Linked DNA regions of Homo sapiens: all the other regions are linked to region 2. Evidence: promoter capture Hi-C in 16 types of primary human blood cells and fetal thymus (Javierre and others, 2016). All regions are on one chromosome and are shown on one strand. Each heading gives the region's core, a stretch centred on a gene start or on the middle of the fragment in contact. The rest is flanking DNA. Distances are from core to core; before and after follow the strand shown. Region 1 holds the start of ACBD6 (acyl-CoA binding domain containing 6). Region 2 holds the start of ARPC5 (actin related protein 2/3 complex subunit 5). Region 3 holds the start of TOR1AIP2 (torsin 1A interacting protein 2).

The links. The method cuts DNA at HindIII sites, captures the fragments that hold promoters and counts their contacts. A CHiCAGO score of 5 or more calls a contact.
Region 1: a contact is called between the fragment with the promoter of ACBD6 here and the fragment with the promoter of ARPC5 in region 2, in 4 of 17 cell types (activated CD4 T cells, total CD4 T cells, non-activated CD4 T cells and 1 more). The highest score is 7.7, in activated CD4 T cells.
Region 3: the fragment with the promoter of TOR1AIP2 here is called in contact with the fragment with the promoter of ARPC5 in region 2 in 1 of 17 cell types (fetal thymus); the score reaches 6.2 in fetal thymus.

The regions. Positions count from the first base shown.
Region 1 is chr1:180,500,823-180,504,850 of GRCh38, reverse strand. It overlaps ACBD6 (acyl-CoA binding domain containing 6), which reads left to right and starts at 2,274. Exons shown (of 8, transcript NM_032360.4): 1 at 2,274-2,806. The coding sequence starts at 2,585. RefSeq lists a silencer at 2,207-2,306 and enhancers at 2,517-2,706, 2,228-2,728, 2,836-3,351, 3,352-3,867. The HindIII fragment of the contact is 1,534 bases long and covers 1,377-2,910 here.
Region 2 is chr1:183,634,085-183,637,746 of GRCh38, reverse strand. It overlaps ARPC5 (actin related protein 2/3 complex subunit 5), which reads left to right and starts at 1,964. Exons shown (of 4, transcript NM_005717.4): 1 at 1,964-2,230. The coding sequence starts at 2,088. It also overlaps a transcript of RGL1 not described here. RefSeq lists silencers at 1,681-1,840, 2,321-2,370, 2,451-2,510, 2,462-2,680 and enhancers at 1,991-2,270, 2,268-2,768. The HindIII fragment of the contact is 3,712 bases long and covers 1-2,933 here.
Region 3 is chr1:179,876,073-179,879,912 of GRCh38, reverse strand. It overlaps TOR1AIP2 (torsin 1A interacting protein 2), which reads left to right and starts at 2,110. Exons shown (of 7, transcript NM_001199260.2): 1 at 2,110-2,220; 2 at 2,540-2,674. RefSeq lists an enhancer at 1,776-2,135. The HindIII fragment of the contact is 9,006 bases long and covers 1-3,840 here.

The DNA.
Region 1 (4,028 bases), core at 1,025-3,524, 3.1 Mb after region 2:
ATAAAGTGAACACATCAGTGTACTAATGTTCGGCTTAAGAAACAACATATCCAACTTCCAGAAGTCCCCTTCATGCACCCTTCAGATCACTAACCCTGAGGTTACCCACTATCCTGAGTCTAACACCACAGATTAGTTTTGCCTGATTTTGAATTTTTTATGACTAGAAACATGTAATATGCACTTTTTTGAGTATAGGCTTATACTCAACATTATGTTTGAGATTCATTCATGTTATTCTGTGTCATTGTAATTAGTTCATTCTCACTGATGAATAGTATTCCATCATGTAAGCACACCAGTTTATCTCCATTCTAGTGTTGATGGACATTCAGGAGCTTCCAGTTTGGAGCAATTAGGAATTAGTTCATAGTGCTGCTATGAATGTTCTCGTACATGTTTTTGGTGAATGCCATGTATATATTCCCGCTGGGGAGGAGTCGAATTGTTGTATATTTATGTTCAGCTTTAGTAGATAGTGCCAAACATTTTTCCACAGTGATTGTACCAATTTATGCTCACACCAGCAGTGTAAAAGAATTCTGGTTGCTCTCTTTCCCATGTTATGTAAACTCTTCCAGAATACAGAAAAAGATGAAAACTTCTAAATGCATTCTACAAGGATTCTATTACCTTGATACAAAATTGAGAAAGTATAGAAAAGGAAAACTATAGGTTAATGACATCTTTAAATGGAACTGTAAAGATAATGAAAATATTAGCAAACTGAACCTACAAATTTTTTAAAAAAACCAAACCAGGACCAGAATGGGTTTATTCCAAGAACAGAAGTAATGCTCAAAACTAGGAGGTTTTGAAATAATGCATACTAATTTATCAATGTTAGCTATTATATAATTCATTAAATCCCAAATTTATTTTTGTTAATATAATTCATTAAAATAGAAACTGTTAATATAATTCCTTTCGAAGACTAGAGGAGAAAAGCAGATAATCTCCAAAGATGCCAAAAAAGCCGTTGATAATATTCAATTCTCACTTTAATAAAAATTCTAGAAACAAAGATATAAAAGTCCATGTTATATCTCCTTCAGTCTACTTGTCGGGTTCATCATCCATTATTACCCCACATGAAAGCTAACTTCTTTTTCCTTGCTCCTCCATTTGCTAGCTGTGTAGCCTTTGACAAGTTACTTAACCACTCTGTGCTGATTTCCTATGTGTAGTAAAATAAGAGTACCTACCTTATGTTGTAATGATCAAGTCCTCAATACATTATTCTTAATCACTTTTTAATTGCAAGAATTTGGTCATTAAACATCCCTTTGACTGGATTGCGAGCACCTTGACAGCAGGGACTAACAGTGGAACTTTCTGGAGACTTAAGGAATGTCTGTTGAATCCTGATGCAAGCTTTCTCACCTTCCTGTGTTCTCTCATTGCTTCCTCATCCTGTCCAGCCGTCCGTCCACCCGTCGCAAGCCTAACCCCAGTCAATAACCACTGTTTACAACACTTTCTTTGTACCCTTCTTATAGTGCTTATTACATTGTTTTGAATACTAAATGAATATATAGTGCGTCGTTGTGTTTAACATTTAGGACATAACCACTCATAATGTTACAGTTAAAAAAATAGTTTTGTGCATTCCTCTAGGGCCGAACTGTGCCGTACTTCTGGTTTCACTGTACAGTGTCTACAAAGCACAGTGTCAAAGACAGAGCTCGGGATGAGAACTGGGCTAAGGCGCGCCCCGAACTCCCCAAACCCTATTATTCAGGGCCCGGAGAGGTGCGGGCTCCGAAGGTGTGGAGAGCGAAACACGCAGAGCAGTGATTCCACTCATCAGTCACACAGTAAGACGGGACAGCCCCATCTCGCAGTTTTTCATTATTCAACACAGAGCCCAACGCGCACGCAACAGATCCGCGCGCAGGGCTGTTTGGAGGCGCTTGGGGCGCACAATCTGGGGCAGGCGGAACCTTAGTCCTCAGCCTCGCGTTTCCCGCGACTCCGCTCTCACCGCTACACTACCACACAAACGGCCTCCTTCCCCCACCCCCGGGGGCCCATCCCGGTGGCGGGCTCCGGAGCTCGGGACTGCTAATTTCAGCGAAACGATTAAAAGACGCCCCTACAGCTGACGGCACTTTCTCTCCTCCGGCAGGGAAGGACGTCCAGCGTAGCGTCGCCCGCGCTTCCCCGCCGGCGCAGAGCAGGCCTCACAGAATCGCACGCCGCTGGCACGCACGCCGCCCCGCCCCCACGGCCCAGCGCCAGCCGCGCCCCGCGCTCGCACGCATCCCGGCCTCACTGCCCCTCGACTCCTGTTCCGTTGGAGGGGCCTGAGGCGAGCCTGAGCGCGCTGTTGGCCGGAGGGAAGCCGGAGGAGACCGGGTCGACTGGGCAGAGCGGCAGAGGGTCGAGGAGCCTGCTCTGCACGCCCAGGGAGTAGAAGTGGGCAGGGAGCAGGGTCACGTGAGGGAGCGCGCCGCGACTGAGCTTGGGTCCGACTGGAGCTCAGGCTCGCGACCCAGACTGGTGGGCCAGGCCTCCAAGCCGGCCTTACACCCAATCCAAGGAGGACAGACCGGACACAGAGGGACGGAGCGAGCAAGGAGACATGGCTTCATCATTCCTGCCCGCGGGGGCCATCACCGGCGACAGCGGTGGAGAGCTGAGCTCAGGGGACGACTCCGGGGAGGTGGAGTTCCCCCATAGCCCTGAGATCGAGGAGACCAGTTGCCTGGCCGAGCTGTTTGAGAAGGCTGCCGCGCACCTGCAAGGCCTGATTCAGGTGGCCAGCAGGGAGCAGCTCTTGTACCTGTATGCCAGGTACAAACAGGTAAAGTAGCAGGGAGAGGGTGGATGGGGGAGAAAGACACGGAGCCTTCTTCCTCAACAACTGATAGCAAGCATGTATGGTTAATAGCTAGGTGTAATGAAGCTTGTGTATGTGTATTTTGTTTTGTTTTTTTTTTTTTGACCATCTGCTGGGGATGAGCATCATCCTGAACGTGGAAAAGATGTTTGCTTTCTTAGGAGTGATGTTTATTTAGCTGGACACTGGACATTGTTTTTGTGTTTTTTTCTCTGACTTATTCAGTGATCTTGCATTTTACCAGCCCAAGAACCTTTACAAAATGAGGATAAAATAAGATATATCATTCATTTACTCTTTCCCAGAGGGCCACATGGAAGTAAATACGGTAAAGTTAATAAAACTATATAGAGATCCAAAAAGATAATAGGATTGTAATAATGTGATGCAGGGCTGGGCGTGGTTGCTCACGGCTGTAATCCCAGCACTTTGGGAGGCCGAGGCGGGAGGATCACCTGAGGTCGGGAGTTGGAGACCAGCCTGACCAACATGGAGAAACCCCGTCTCTACTAAGTTAGCCGAGCGTGGTGGCGCATGCCTGTAATCCCAGCTACTCGGGAGGCTGAGGAGGCGGAGGTTGCGGTGAGCGAAGATTGTGCGCCATTGCACTCCAGCCTGGGCAACAAGAGCGAAGAAACTCCACCTCAAATAATAATAATAATAATAATGTGATGCAATGCAAAATGCAGTATTACAACTTTTATTGTGATTTTTATAAAATCCTAAATATCTTTGATTTATGTTTTCGTTGAGTATGTCTTCCTTTCTGTTTGATACAATCTAAAAATTTTAGAGCTATGAACACCAGAGGAAATAATGCCCTTCTTTTACAGTAAAGGAAACTGAAGGCCATAGAGAGTAGGCACCTTTCCTAGGGTCATACAAATACATCAGTCAGAACTGGATTGTAGCTCCTGACTCAGTCTAAGGCTGTGAACTTTACCTGGAAATAGGGAGGTGTATAGACACGTTTAATTTATAATTCAGGGTGACATTGGTTGGTACCAGAAGGAAAATAATTGCTTTATCATAAGCAACATATATTTGTTCAGCAGCTTTTATGTGCAAGACACTTGGGTATAATGCCTACAGAGAATGCAGAGAAGCAAAAACATCATGACACTTTGCAGAGAAGCAAAAACATCATGACACTCACTTTTTTTTTTTTTTTTTTTTTTTACAGAGG
Region 2 (3,662 bases), core at 715-3,214:
TAACTTGAATGTTAATTTAAACAATGTTACTTCTATCACCTAAATGATATACTTATAGAAGAGTGGTTTAATTGGGAACAGAAAAACACCACATTGCTTCTTCCCAAGAAAAAGGGATGTATTCCATTCTCGAGGTCTCTCTCCCACTCTCTATTTATATATAATATACTGCATAGATAAATATACACACATTATATATGTATTTTTTTGAACTTAAAGAAGACTGGACATATGTATTTACATGTATATATCCAACAAATATTTAATTTTGAGATCTCTCTCCCTCTTCTGATTTATTATTCTCAGTATGATTCTCAAACTGTACGGTCTTTCACATTTCATTCATTCATCAAGCATGTATCGAGTCCCTTCTGCATGCTTAGCTTTTTGTCATATGGAAGGAAGATACAAAAGAAAAACTGTTTCTGCCCTTCAGAATCTTTCCATCTCTTCTAGGAAGGAGATAAAACACCATATATCATTAAGAAATTTATAAGACTAGTCCCAAAACCAATGGTACAAGCAACATGCATTTTACATTTATGTAGAATTTTAGAGCTTGGAAACACTTTCGTGATATATAATCCTAAGAACAATCTTGTAAAGTGCACATTATTAGCTCCATTTCAGTGATGAGGAATCTGAGACAGAATTTTAAGTGACATGTCTCGTTCAAACATTATGAGTGGAAGAGTCAACACTTAAGCCTGAGTTTTCTGATTCTAAGCCTAGTGCTCTTTTCAACACAGCACTGGAAACCAAAGATTGTGGTACACAACAGGGCAACAGCCAGTCTTCTGCTCGAGGTCCAACTAAACTGGACCCATACCGAGCAGTGTCCAGCCAAATGTCCAAATTAATTTTATCCTGCAAATATTTGTTCTTCAGTGTAATACACACAGCACAACTACCATTTCCTTCGTCTTAGTGCCTTTATCTCCTACATTCCAGAAATGGGGATGTCAAATATTTTTTTAAATCTGGCCTAGATGGAATCATATAAATCTCAAATCATAATATAAATCTTAAAGGTCTGGTTTCCACCAATCCTTCCACATTTTGTTTTCCCCCAGCACTAGAGAGCCTAACCTACCCTCACCCCTTTCGAGCATTCTTGCTCCAAACGACCACCTATTTTAAGATGTCAATGACCCTTTCCCAAATTCTACAAATTCACCCCAGTTTTGCCACCCGACCCCAGCGCCTGCCCGGACACGTTCCCCTCCCTCCCAATAGATTTGATACCGAGTTCAGGTTCTGCAGATCCCGTTGCGATGCTGTCACACAGCACTGACAGATAAGATTTGACCTTTCGACTCCGTCCTTGGGGACTTCCCGCTGGCCAAGAAGGGTAGTTCCAATCCCAGGAAACGGGCTTCCTGCTCAGGAACGCAGCCTCTAGCAGCGCACAGTCTGAGGCAATGTCTCCGGCAATTAGAACGATGCTGGGCGCCCGGGTGTGCATCACTCTGCCTCATACTCCTACCAACTGCAGGGCACTCGGTCCGGCAGCCAGTCCATCCCACCCACAGCCAAGTCCCAGCCAGCCGGACCTTACGCAGGACCCCGATGATAGGTCGTTGACGGCTGCAGCAAAAGCCAAGGCCACCTGCCGCTGCTGCCCATCCCCGCCAATCTGAGACCCCCTAGACTGGACCGCAGAAAAGCGTTTCTATGGGAACCCCCCCACCGAGAATCACGTGACGCAATCGGACGACCAATCGCTTCTTACCTCTGCCCGCGGTCCAGCTTTTGGCCCTCCCTCTCGCCCCCGCCTCCTTCGCCCAGCCCCGCCCCTTGCCTGCGGAGAGCCCGCGCCTGCGCGCTGTGTCCTGCGCGCTCCTTCCCTCGCGCGCGCTCTCCGTGGAAGAGCAGGGGCAGCGTGGGAGGCGCCAAGGGAGCGCGAACCTGAGGAGGAAGAAACGGGGCTAGCGCGCAGGCCCAGAACGGTCCGAGCCGCGGCAGTCGGCGACGCCTCAGAGCGGAAGAGGGAAGTGAATCAGGCGCCGGGTAGTGGGTTGCTGGGCTGGGCTTGCTGAGGTAGAGGCAGCGCCAAGAAGAGGCCTTTGCCGCTGGTCGGGATTGGGATGTCGAAGAACACAGTGTCGTCGGCCCGCTTCCGGAAGGTGGACGTGGATGAATATGACGAGAACAAGTTCGTGGACGAAGAAGATGGGGGCGACGGCCAGGCCGGGCCCGACGAGGGCGAGGTGGACTCCTGCCTGCGGCAATATCCTTGCATTCACCGCCCTCCCCACCCCAGCCCAGCCCAGCCCGCCCTTCTCCTGGGACCCGGGAGCCTGCAGGATCCGCGGGGCACCGGCGCGGAGCTGCCCTCTCAACCTGCGGCTTAACCTGTCTCTTTGGGATCGCCCGCTCTGAGAGGGCAAGGGGGAAGCCCCCGTTTCCTACCCAGTCGGCAGGAGACGCGAGGGTCCCACTCTTGGAAGCCTGCCCTCCCCCGCGCGCCTTCCACGCCCCCAGATTCCTCAGGTTGCACCCGAGTGCCTGCCTGCCTCGGGAACTGGTCCCGCCGGCCGCGCCCTCGCGGCGCTGGGGAAGGCGGCCCCGGCTGGTGGGGAAGGCTGGTGCCGAGCGCCTTAGTTTTTCTTCCTAGAACTCTGATTTCCTGGGGTCACATTAGCTCCAGAAATTTCTGATTGTGGGGAACCTGCATCTTTCCTTAGTGGTTTTGTTTTTTGTTGTGTTTTTGTTATTGGTAGCGTTAAGGTAGTTTATTCCTTACCGGGGGGCGGGGGGAGATGGGACTGTTCGAAAATTGAGGGTCCCTGTGCTTTCAGCCCATTGGCCTTTTTAAAAAAAAAAAAAAAAGAAGAAGAAGAAGGGGATTTGGCAAAATATACATTGTACAGAATTTGTTAACTGGGGGAGGGGAATGAATACAAAAAATACAAAACTCCTAGAAGGAAGCTTGGAGCCTTTTACCTGCTAAGAAAAGGACAATAGAAAAAACAACGGGGAATGCGTGTGGAGAATCCTTGGAAATATTTAAAATAAACCCCAATGAATAAGATAGAAGATGAGTCATTCGTATAAAGCAGAATCATTTTTGTAATCCTAAAATTGTTTCCATTTTAGTTAAAATATGGCAGTCAGTTCCCGGTTTCTGTTTTTGCATATTTGAATATTCATAACTTTGGCTTCGCATTTGCATTACATCTTTTTTAGAAAAATGTAAATGTTGCAAAAAAACCGAAGCTGTAGTTTTAGAAAATCTCAGACACTGAATTTGTATGCATTTCTAATTCTTGGGTGTATTCATAAGGAAGACTCTCAACAATGTCCTGTTATAGTGGGGAAATATGAGAGTGAAAATATTTAATGGCAACAATATCCTTTTTTAAAGGCACCTAAATAGAGCATTAGACATTTATCAATATATAGATAGTGCTTTGCCACAACTTTCACAATTAATTAGCTGTTGCTCTTTTGCATTATTTAAATACTTAAGTGCTTGGAGTTATAAAAAATGAGCTAATCTACATCAGGCATGCTTCTCTAGAAATCCCTGCAGCCTTGAAAATAACAGCTTGTCAACCAGAGATTTTGTGTAAGAACTTTTTCTTTAGAAAATAAATGGTGAACATGCTTCCTAAAAACATTATTTGTGATGGATAGATGGTGTTTTATGAAACCCCAGT
Region 3 (3,840 bases), core at 861-3,360, 3.8 Mb after region 2:
CTAAACTGTTATGAAACTAGATACTCTGCTGTAGCTATTATCCAGACTATAAGAGTGGCTGAAAAGAGGTGACATTACAGTGACAGTAGAGTCATAGCCAATATTATAAGGGATGCGCTGGGCCACTAAAAAAGGATGCCTCAGCTCTGGATATTAAAGTTACTTTGGGAATTTGAGAAATCTGGAGGAATTCAGTGACCCAAAAAAGAAGACCGGTAAGAAAAGAAATGATTAAAACAAAGAATACACTTAATAATTCATTTACTTATCAAACGTGTGCCAGCAATGAGGAAGACTATCTTTAGGGAATTTGTCATTTATTGGGAACGACAGAAACACGAAAAATTACAATTCAGATTAAATGGCATTAATTCACACACTTAACTATTAGGGCTAGGTCTGGAAATCCTGTGCTCTTGAGACTGGGTTCCTAAATCAGTTATTTTATTTCATTTTTAATTAATTTATTTATTTAGAGACGGAGTCTCGCTCTTTCGCCTAGGCTGGAGTGCAGTGGTGCAATCTCGGCTTACTGCAGCCTCCCCCAACTCCAGGTTCAAGTGATCCTCCTGCCTCAGCCTCCCGAGTAGCTGGGATTACAGGTGCCTGCCACCATGCCCAGCTAATTTTTGTATTTTTAGTAGACATGGATTTTGCCATGTTGGCAAGGCTGGTCTTGAACTCCTGACCTCAGGTGATCCATCCGCCTTGGCCTTCCAAAGTGCTGGGATTACAGGTGTGAGCCACCACGCCTGGCCAAAATAATTATTTTAAATGAAACATTTTAGAACAATAAATTTTTTGTACAGGAACTTTTTGCTTTAGGGTAAGCAGAAGTTCATTTATTTAAAGAGATAAATCTATCCGTTGTGACTTAGTAGTACAAATGAAGTAGGCAAACAATTTTAATAAGGAAAAGATGATTAAAATATTAAACAGGAGGAAGTTAATTAAAGACATAGTAGCTGGCTCCATTTATTCCCCAGTCTTACAAATGATAGAAAAATATTTTAATGACAATACAAATGAAAATTCCTGGAAATGTTATACTGAAATTAATTAAACACAATAAAGTGAATGGAATATAGTATTCTTTTTGTTGAATTAGGACTTGCAGTTAATTATTAAACACCATCCAAGAGTGTTACCAAATCCTGTCACTTCTGCCAAGAGAGGGTGATTGAGAAGTGAAGGCACCAAAAATCACATTAAATGAGGAATTATTAATTCAATAAATACTTGAGCTACTGTGTAGTAGGCAGTCCCTGTTCTCTGTGCTGGGGATACAGCAGTGAACAAAATAGACTAAAAGACAAAAAATGTTTCCTGCCTTCTTGGAGATTATATTCTATGGGAGGAGTCGGGCAAAAATCAAAATAAGTAAAATAGTGTGTTGGTCAGGACTGTTATGGGAAAAAAAAGAGGAAAGGGGAAGGGAGTTTTACATGAATAGATTTCTTCTTGAAATTTGGTTAGATTTGTCCTGAATTGCTGTAGGTCAAGAACAGGAATTTTAGACTTACTTCATTTTTCCCCCAACAAATTGTATGTTCTTGGGTAAATTGCTCGCCATCTCTTAATTTTCACATTTATAAAATTAGTAGATCAAAACAGCTATTTTTTGTCACTACTGTCATTTAACAGAAATGCTGCATACGTCATCTAATCTACTAATAACAAACTTATGAGGTAAGTAACGTTGTCCCCATTTGACACACGAGCAAACTGAGGTTTAGATTAGGCAACTCATTGGATTACATGCTCCTCTTAATGGCACAGAGGGTGTGTTCCAGGACATGGTGCTTGCCATTATCATTTGGTACTGCTGCTCACTGTGTTGGTCCTATGAGTTTCTTCAGTCTATGAATTTCAGGTCAGGGTGGTCGACGTCTTACAGAGATGCCTGTAATCCTGTCAGCATGAGATTGCATGGGACCTCTGCGGTTTGGTCGCGCATTTACCGCGCCTGTCGCTGGGTCAGACGACCTGGCAGTAGAGGGTGAAGGATGGAGAAGGCAGAAGGCAGGGCACGGAGACTACTAGTCCCAGGATTCCACGGGCGCCTTCCGGCGGAAAGTGTTTGTCATATGGGCGGGGACCCTGGACGACATTCGGGCCGCGGCGGCCGCTGGGTGCAGCCGAGCGGTGTGGAGCGGAGAGAATACTCGAAGGGCTCTCCTGATACTAACAGTTTTACGATTTAAAACTTCGCCAGAATTTGTAAGTAAACAAAATGACTATGCAGCTTTTCCATGTTTTAGTATTGAAACTGATATCTTGAATTTTTGAAAAGGACTTTCAGAAACGGTCCCTCCCCACCCCCACCTTCGTACCGCACAAATGGTATTTTTATTTTTATTGTTTTTGAGACAGGTACTTGCCCTGTCACCGAGGCTAGAGTACAGTGGCGTGATCATAGCTCACCACAGCCTCATACTTCTGGGCTCAAGGGATCCTCCCGCCTCAGCCTCCCAAGTAGCTGGAACTACAGGCCCGCACCACCATGCCCTACTAATTACTTTATTTTTTATTTTTATAGCGACAGGGTCTCACTGTATTGCCCAGGTTGGTCTCGAACTCCTGGCTTCAAGCGATTCTCCCACCTCAGCCTCCCAAAGTGCTGGGATTACAGGCGTGAGCCACCACGCCTGGCCTCACTCAAACAGTAAACGAGGTAGGTTGGGGGTATATTTTTGTTTTGGGATAAAAAGAAACTGAATCTTATAAATATTAAATGGGTTAAGATGTGAGTAAATTTTTGGGTTTAGACTTTAAGGTGAGAAGCCGAATTATTTTAGGGTTCGAAATGTGAGTGGGAAATTTGCCTACTAGTGTAGGCGGCGATTACTCCATTCCCAACATGCCTAGGTTCTCGACATTCATAATCTTAATCCTGAAAAGATAATACTTAAAAAAAAAAAAAATTGGTGCTAAAAAGGGCAAAGTTGAAGTTTTAGTAAGACCTCCTACCATTTTGCTTACATATTATATATGTACCATTCTCCCAATTGTATTTAATACCTGATGAAAAAGTTTGTGCCTTTTCCTTCTTTTAACAAATTTCATAGTACTCTCTACTTTATGAGTAATGCTTAATTATCAGACTTTATACTGTTACACAGATCCAGAAATGAGTTACATAGATTAAACATACTGGCTTTGTTTTACCTGTCTTTAGGTTTTAACACATTTTATTTTGGATCTGTATGAGAGATCCTTTCTTTGTTTTAAGCTGTGGCAGTTATCCATGTTTTTTGAGCTTTTTTTTTTGAGCACAAGATGAGGATATAAAAGGCCAGTGGAAACATTTAATAAAAAAAGGAACTTCATGGTAGAGTAACTACAGATGTTTTTGGAAGACTTTGTGTGGATTAGAATAGTTTGAAAAACTAACATTTGTTATGAAAACTGAGTGCCTGTCTTCAGTAATGTTTATTATGCTGAACGTGCAGTCCACAACTTGATTACCTGTTTTTCTGCTGGTTTGTTACGCAACCTTGCGTGACTCATTTAAGAACTATTTTATCTAGTTTCTTTCCTAATGTAGAGGTAATGCTAGCTTGAGAGCTTCAATAATTTATAAATAAATTAACTTCAGAATGTAGCTAATTATTTGAGGATTATTGGGTGTTTTAATAATGTATTGTATCTTGTATATAACTTATTTTTGCCTAAGAAGTAATTTCTGTATTCCATTCATTTCCATGGAACACAGAAGTCAAAATTCTATTCCAGGAAAGTCCACACTTCTTTGAAGTGCCACTTGAATTTCCTGAAGGAATGTTTGCTTCAAAAAGCCTTGTCTGCTTTATCACTTTGAGGTTGTTCACTAAGTCAACT